3 separate regions of the Homo sapiens genome follow, and all the other regions are linked to region 1. The links are contacts of gene promoters, found by promoter capture Hi-C in blood cells and fetal thymus (Javierre and others, 2016). All regions are on one chromosome and are shown on one strand. The core of a region is centred on a gene start or on the middle of the fragment in contact, and the rest is flanking DNA. Distances in the headings are between cores, read along the strand shown.

Region 1 (2,665 bases), core at 116-2,615:
ACATACTTAAAGATCACAAATGGGTAAATTGTACAACTGTTGTTTTTAAATTTCATGACTTAAGCAATTTCCCATATATTTTGTTTTTCTAGCTATTTTGACTCCTCTTCCCATAAAGGATTCAAGAAAATTTTAAATATAGTTTTTAAGGTTTTTCAGTAGTGTCTTTGAATACTTTTAACATCTGACCTACATCTTTCTGTAAAGGACTTTAAGATGATTTCCCTCATGATATTTTCAATAGCAGTTTATGATTTGAGGTAGACGTTCTTGTTATCACTACAACCATTCTTTTTTGTTGCTGTTTCCTGAAAGAAGGTTGTGGCATCGCACTCTTTGATCTATCTTGCAATTAAATTGGCCATGAAAGATAATGTGATTCATCTAACTTTTATATGAAAAGTAAAAGGAAATATATTGCTCATTTCAAAAATTCAATTCAGGCCAGGCACAGTGGTTCACGCCTATAATCCCAGCACTTTGGAAGGCCGAGGCAGGCGGATCATGAGGTCAGGAGTTTGAGACCAGCCTGGCCAACATGGTGAAACCCCGTCTCTACTAAGAATACAAAAATTAGCCAGGCATGGTGGCAGGCACCTGTAGTCCCAGCTACTCGGGAGGCTGAGGCAGGAGAATCGCTTGAACCCGGGAGGCAGAGACTGCAGTAAGCTAAGATTGCACCACTGCACTCCAGCCTGGGCAACAGAGAAAGACTCCATCTCAAAAAAAAAAAAAAAAAAGAAAGAAAAAAAAAAAAGAAAATTAAATTCAGTAACTTTAAAAAACAAATTTTTGTTACAAATTAAAGAAAATAATTGACTTCCCTATTTATTTTGACTCAAAACTGGACAACCACTGGCATTTGACTGCTATAATGATTTAAAAATTAATAAGCTGATTCCTGCTCAGAAAATGCTTCTTCTAATGCAGTTCTAGCTACAGTGTGGAATATCTGTCTCCTTTAGGTACACCTTGGATGATCTGGACTCTAAAAATCCAAGTTACACCCAAGATTCCATTATCCTGTGGTTACTCACTTGGACCACAGACATGTAGGACCTGTCTGAAAGAAATATAAGAATCAAGTGGAAGTCAACCAGTGAATCATCCCTATAATGTAGTGAAACTTTAGAAAGAAGAGCCGGGAGGATGTATTGGTTGTTAGGAAAATGTAGGCTACCAGTAGAAAATGACATTCTCTATTAATAAGATCTGAGGTGCGACACACATAATTGTCCCAATTTTTAAGATTGATGGGGAGCATGAAGCATTTTTTTAATGTGTTGGCAGGCCCCATTAAATGCATAAACTGCATAGGACTCATGTGGTCTGAATGTATTTTAGGGCTTTCTGGGAATTGTCTTGACAGAGAACCTCAGCTGGACAAAGCAGCCTTGATCTGAGTGAGCTAACTGACACAATGAAACTGTCAGGCATGTTTCTGCTCCTCTCTCTGGCTCTTTTCTGCTTTTTAACAGGTAAGTTTTTTCTTAAAATTAAGATCCCATATTTATACTGAACTGGATATGATGAGTAGTTGTTTATCATATTTTAAATCCTAATGATTTTGATGTAAAAGACCAATTCTGAGAGATTATCATAATGATGATAATGATTGTGATGACGACAATGGTTATGGTAATAATTATTAAAATTACTGTGATTTGTTGAGCATATACTATATTCTAGGCATGTACGAAGGGATTTTATGTATTGTCTCTGAGACTCATAATAAGGTATTTCTATCTCTGTTCTTCATATAAGAAACTGTGGAACAGAGAAATTGAGAAAATCAGCAAAAGACTTGCAACTAGTAGTTAGAATCTGGAATTTGAATCAGATTCTCTTGCCATCACATTTAATGTTTGTTCCATAAAACTAGATTGGAGGATGGATAATTGCATTAAATATTGGTTTTGCTTTCCAGAACAAAGAAATATTTTCCTCCCCTTAGTTATTATTACAAAGACATTCAAATAATTAAATTAAGACAATGGGGAAATTGGAAACTCAATGAGAAAAATCTTTGAAAATATGTAATTGAAACTTAGAATGCAGAAACATATGTTTCTGGTGAGCTAAATAATCTTAGAGAAGGAGAATATCTTTGGACACTTTAGTGAGGTTCAAAGCACAATCATACTTCAAGGTTATGTTTTTTAAGACAGAACCATCGGAATGAGCAGGTCCATCATAAGCTATTTTCTTCCTTATTATTCTACTCTTTCACGTTGTAGGGCACAAAGCAAATGCTAGTTTTTAGACCTAAGACCTAGTTTCATCTCTTCTATTAATGGCCTGTGTCACTTAAAGAAATAACATAATTTTCTGAGATATTTTGTCATTTGTAAAATAATAGAAATAAAACTAAGCCCTGGGACCTTCCATATCTTATGTATCATTTTGTGTGACAGTAGCAGATGAATTTTACTACTATGCAAGATTTTAAATGGATGTACAAGTAAAAAAAAAATCAATGAGATTTAGCTGATAGAGAAGCCAGTGTTCACTGTAGCTGGTCATAATTACAAAAACAAATACACTTAGAAATACAAAAAAAATGGGTAAAGGATTCCTGTGATATTATGGAGTAAGCTTGACTACTAAAGCCAAATAACCTTAATGGGTAGTTCAATCAGTTGCTGAGATGGCAGAAAAATATATA
Region 2 (2,665 bases), core at 117-2,616, 540 kb after region 1:
TTTTTCTCCAACTGTCCTGACAGTTCTATATTAGGGCCACCATTATCTCTTGCCTGACCACTGGAAAATATTTCTAAAAGATTTGAAGATGGCTCTCTCCTTCTGGTTCTTAATGCAGTTCCCTCCTTTCGTCCCTTTGGGCTTAGAATTAGAAACACCTCTGCTGCCACTACCCCTGGGTGACTGCATCAGCCTTTGTGCCTCCTCCTTACAAGCAAACCGTCTCTGAATTGTTCTAATTTGAGGATCCCATCTCTTTCCCATTGGGATTTTAAACCCTATAGATCCTTCCATGAACACTTTCCTCCCTACAGTCTGACTCCTGTAATGACTCCTTCTCCCTCCCTTTCCTCCTTTCCTAGACGTCTGCTTACATAGCCTAGAAAGAAGGAGGGAGGAGAAAGCGGAAAGGCTCATGGTAGCAGGGCCAGTTTTGACTTTTAAGAAGCCCTGGGGATTTGTGGGGGGAACAGTGTTCTGGCTCCAGCTATTGCTGGCAATCTTTAGAATGTGGCACTAGATCCTCTTTGTCCATTGTTTGGGGTTCTACTTGTCAATACTGGAATAATAGGAAAAGTGTGATATACCATCCTATCACATATGGCCGTCTGCAGCGGGACTTAATGAAGCTTTCAAATACACAGAGGCCTTGTCACCATAGCTCTTTCTAATGCTAGTCAATACTTTCTATGTATTAGGTTTCTTGCTAAAGCTTTGCCTTGAATGTTTACATGCGGGCAATACCCAAGAACCTAACTGGAGGCAAGACAGGTGAGGGAAGCAGGACAAACACACCCAGTCTGACCCAGTCGATAATGAGTTTTCTACATCTGAGAATGTGATATTTGTGTAACACGTTACAGTTTAACAGGAGCTTTCATCCCCCTTTAGCTGGCACATGGCTGAGTAATCAATATATGTTTTCGTAAATGATTGAATGCAACTATAGAGTCATTTTCTCCTCCTCAAAATAACCCTGTGAAGTAGGCAGTGCAGGGATTATTATTCTCACTTTACAGAAAAGGAAACCAGGGCCCAAAGAAGTGAAATAGTTTCCTGAGTCCACGTAGTCAGTGACTGTATGTGCTCAAACCAGAACCAGCAGTGTCAGGCACCCATACTAGCTCATTTCAAAAGTCAGGAAGTCAGGAAGCAGGACGGTATTCTTGATAAAATAGGGAATTGGATTGGATCAAGTGCTTAAGTGTCTTCTCAGTATTAAGTCTCTATTCCTAGCCTCCCTCAATAATCTTACAGCACAGTTGGGAGCTGCCATGGAAGGGGATGGTAGGCAGAAGTTCAGGCTGCTAACCAGCTGGGAATTGAGTAAAAGGAACAAGAGAAAGGCCTTCTGGTGCCAAGACTCTGGAGAAATGTTTGTTGACTTTTGGCTTTGCATTGACTACTTCCAACTAGGCTTTGAAGCTGACTTTTTGATCCCAGGGCTCCCTGGGATGGGTGGGGGAGCTCATGACATTGTTGCTGTGGTTCTCCAGGCAACCACAAACCCTCAGTAGCTCCAGGAAGATGCCTTAATTACGTGGAAAGCGATGAGGGAACTACAGAGAAAACAAGAGATATCTACAAGGAAAGTGGGGCAAAAACAACAAGAATCTAAAGGGCAAAACAAGAGAGGCCCCAGGGGCGAAGCAACAGCCAGCACAGCAGCACTGTGAGGATGTTGATGGTGCCTCTCCTGGAGTCCTTCAGAATAAACTTGTCCCTTATAAAACTGAACTAGAAAGTGTCTAAAGGAATGAGAGCCCTAGCTCTCAGCCAAGTCTCCTAAAATAAGTTTTAAGAGATGGAGTGATGTTCTAAAAACACAGACCTAAATATTCACTCCCTTGCTCATAAGCTCTCTTTGCTCCTTGTTACCCTCCAGATAAAGTCTGTGCTCCTCGGCAGAGCTCAAGGACACTATTCAGTTCCTCTCCATGCCCCATGACTCTCTCGAATCTGGTCTGGGCATTTGTGCAAGGTTCTCCCTCCTTGGCAAATCACTACTTATCTCAAGGTCTAAGCTTCAACATTAATTTTTCTAGGAACATCCCCTCGATCCTATTCCCATCCCCATATTAGGCACAGTGTTCCTTCTGTATGTTCCTACAACATCACGATCTTTCATAATGGCCACATCGCTGGCACCGTTAGGTGCATGTCCGTCCCCTTCTCAGATACATCTCTCACATGAAGCAGAGGTCCGGGCACTTAGGAAGTGCTCATTAAGTATCTGTTGGATAAATAATAATGAGAAACAGTCAAAATCTCTAAAAGAGCCTTCTGTTTCACCAAGCAAAGAGGAAGGAAAATAACCAAGTGTGGGACATTGAGCAAAGAGATTATTTTTAACAGGAACAGAAACCCAGACAAATAAATGGCCCTTAATTTATGTCAGGGTTATCAAGAAATATATTATGCCCTTGATAATTGTGCAGTTATAATTACTTCTTCTGGAAACTGGGCTTTGTTGGAAGAAAGATTGGAGAGATTTGGAGATAAGTTTCCTTAGGAATAAACATGGAGAATCAAAATCCACCAAATGCCTGGATATCTCGGAAAAGAGATCAAACTGAAATAAGTGAGTGGACAGAACAGCCAATGTGGGTCTGACAGAGTAGCTGCGTCTAAAGGGGCAGCTGCTTCTCAGCTCCAGCCAATTGTT
Region 3 (2,665 bases), core at 82-2,581, 520 kb after region 1:
GTAACGGGATCATGAGGGCGATTTCCCCCTTGCTGTTCTTGTGATAGTGAGTTCTCAGGAGATCTGATGGTTTAAAAGTATGTGACACTTCCTCCTTCACTCTCTGTCTCTCCTGCTCTGCCATGTGAAGAAGGTGCTTGCTTTCCCTTCACCTTCTGCCTCTCCTGCTCTGCCATGTGAAGAAGGTGCTTGCTTCCCCTTCACCTTCTGCCATGATTGTAAATTTCCCAAGGCCTCCCAGTCATGCTTCCTGTTAAGCCTGCAGAACTATGAGTCAATTAAACCTCTTTTTTTCATAAATTACCCAATCTTAGGTAGTTCTTTATAGCAGTGTGAGAACAGACTAAAACAAATGAAGAGACCTTACTGGAAAAATGGCATCTCCGCAAACTTGAACCGCAATCTTAAGTGAATCAAAGGATACATTGGTTCTGTTTCTGGCTCCCTGAAAACAACATCTGTTAGAGCCAAGAGAAGGCAAAAAGTAGGTGACAGGATCGCAGGATGCTGTATTTTGCTGATGGAAGTAGTTTCTGGGTAAGATCTAAGCCACAAATGCTACATAGTAAGCCACTAAAGGATGGCAGAGAAAAGGTTTTCTAATCCCTGGTGTGAAAAGGATCTCAGCAATTTTGCTTCATTACTTCTGGATGATGGTACAAAATTTAGTGGAGATGAAATGCTTTCATGAACTTAACTCCCTGGTAGTTTCTAAACTTCTTAGCTCCAGAATCACAAAGGGTACAGGAAACGAGCATTGACTGAATACCTGCTAAGCTTCTATCTACTGGGCATTTTTCTTACACTAAACTCAGAAAATTGCCTAGTCTTCTCCTATCCATCTCTTCCCTACACTGCCTCCAACCCCAAATAATCTGTCATTATCTCCCTAAGGCAGAAAGATTTTGAAAATGGCCAATGGCTAGATAGTTGCACAACAAGTATCATTTGTTTTGTTATTGTTGTTGTTGTTGACACAAATTTAGAATCCCACTGTGGCCTTCTGCTTCCCCTGTTGGGGTGCTGTCCTATTTATATTTAACTCATGAAGCAACCCACCTTTAATATGGTACAGAACATATAGTAGCTAACAAAAATCCAACTAGAAGAATAATAGATTAGACAGGGCTCTTGGACAAGGAACACCAGTCCCTTTTGCTTCAGAGTAATTGCAGGTGAACCTGCAGGAAGAAGCCTAGGAAAGTTAGTATTTCCGCTACGCTAATAAAGATTTTAAAAAGTTTTCTCCCTTTGCATCTACTTTTTGTCATTGCTGGGTACCATGTGGCAAATAACGATTTATTAATATTCTTCCAGATAAAATGATCTCTGTACTCTATTAAGTCATCTAGCACCCCAAAAGGCCCATGACCACTGGGGTAGGTGTGTATTTCACTTATTTTTGTAACTTATTATTGACTTAAGGATTATTAAGACATACTGTCAAAAAGTGCTGTGTGGCAAAAGCTGATAATTACCAATTTCATGCCCATTTTCCCTTCCTCCTTCAGAATAGAAACCTAGTTTTGTCAGGGATATCGGTGTGCACTGATACAAAATTACTTTTTTCAGCCTCATTTTAAGATAGCAGTGGCCAGGTAACTAAGTTCTGGATAAGGCTTTCAGGAAGGGTAAGAGGCTCTTTTTTGTTTTTCCATATTTCCTCCCTCTTCCTGCCCGGAATAAAGACTTGATATCTGGAGCTACTTTGTCTGTCTTGCTCCTTGAAGTTGGAAGTCACATGTTAATGACGACAGAATAAAAAGATAGCAGTCTAGGACATAGGTGGTATCCTAGAACCACTTCTACAACTATAGAAAGTCAACCTACAGACTACCTGTATATGAGAAAAAACAAACCTTCATCTTGTTAAACCGTATTGGTTCAAGCTTTCCTTATTAGCCCCCAAATGTATTTCCTAATTGCATCATTCTCTGTGTGGCTAAATAAGAACAGAACAAAAAATATTCAATCAAGGTATGAAAAAAAGAACAAAACATTTAAATTCTATGACTGTCAAGGAAGCGTTCATTAAGTGTGAGGAAGGGATTACTAGGTGGCGGTCATGGGAGAGCTATGATGTCCAAGTTGGCTACAGGAGAAGGGTTTTTATAAAAGAAAACTCTAAGAATCCAAGATATTTTATCTGTGGTTTCAAACACTTCACCCTTTGTGCAATTATAAAACTGCATTATTCATTAACATTGAATTTGTTTAGTCTGTAGGAGAAATGACTGATCATTGTAAAGTGTTTCTGGGATACTTTGGAATCTATTTAATGAAAAATCAAATGAGACAGGATAACAAGTTTAAGTTCATTTGAGTCAACATCAATGCCAGTTACTCCAGAAGCAGGAAAAGAGACCAGCAGAGAGGAAGGTAATAGAAAGCTCTTGGCGCTGCTTTCCAAATTACCTCTAATCCACTAACGGGCTGGAGACATCTTACAAATGCTAATTAATTAAGCCCCCTACCAGTCAAATGATGACTGTAGGAAGACGCCTCTGTGATACAGGTCTGGACTTTAAGAGAACACAGGGGGCTAGTAATGGACATGTAGTTAAGCAGGCAGTTGTTGAAGTCCTGTAAGGTCAGTTAAGGCAGTGAGAAGCACTAACCAAAGAAGAGTACAGAATTGAGAACTTGGAGCAACGTGTGTAATCAG

What was found. The method cuts DNA at HindIII sites, captures the fragments that hold promoters and counts their contacts. A CHiCAGO score of 5 or more calls a contact.
Region 2: a contact is called between a fragment that was not itself captured here and the fragment with the promoter of SPINK6 in region 1, in 1 of 17 cell types (M1 macrophages). The highest score is 6.1, in M1 macrophages.
Region 3: a fragment that was not itself captured here is called in contact with the fragment with the promoter of SPINK6 in region 1 in 7 of 17 cell types (endothelial precursors, M0 macrophages, megakaryocytes and 4 more); the score reaches 8.5 in endothelial precursors.

What each region holds. Positions count from the first base shown.
Region 1 is chr5:148,201,677-148,204,341 of GRCh38, forward strand. SPINK6 (serine peptidase inhibitor Kazal type 6) reads left to right here and starts at 1,366. Exons shown (of 4, transcript NM_205841.4): 1 at 1,366-1,478. The coding sequence starts at 1,421. The HindIII fragment of the contact is 4,979 bases long and covers 1-2,593 here.
Region 2 is chr5:148,738,336-148,741,000 of GRCh38, forward strand. No RefSeq gene overlaps it. Among named protein-coding and RNA genes, the nearest start is that of HTR4, 85 kb to the left of the region's middle. The HindIII fragment of the contact is 1,312 bases long and covers 711-2,022 here.
Region 3 is chr5:148,717,353-148,720,017 of GRCh38, forward strand. No RefSeq gene overlaps it. Among named protein-coding and RNA genes, the nearest start is that of HTR4, 64 kb to the left of the region's middle. RefSeq lists an enhancer at 2,171-2,665. The HindIII fragment of the contact is 1,112 bases long and covers 776-1,887 here.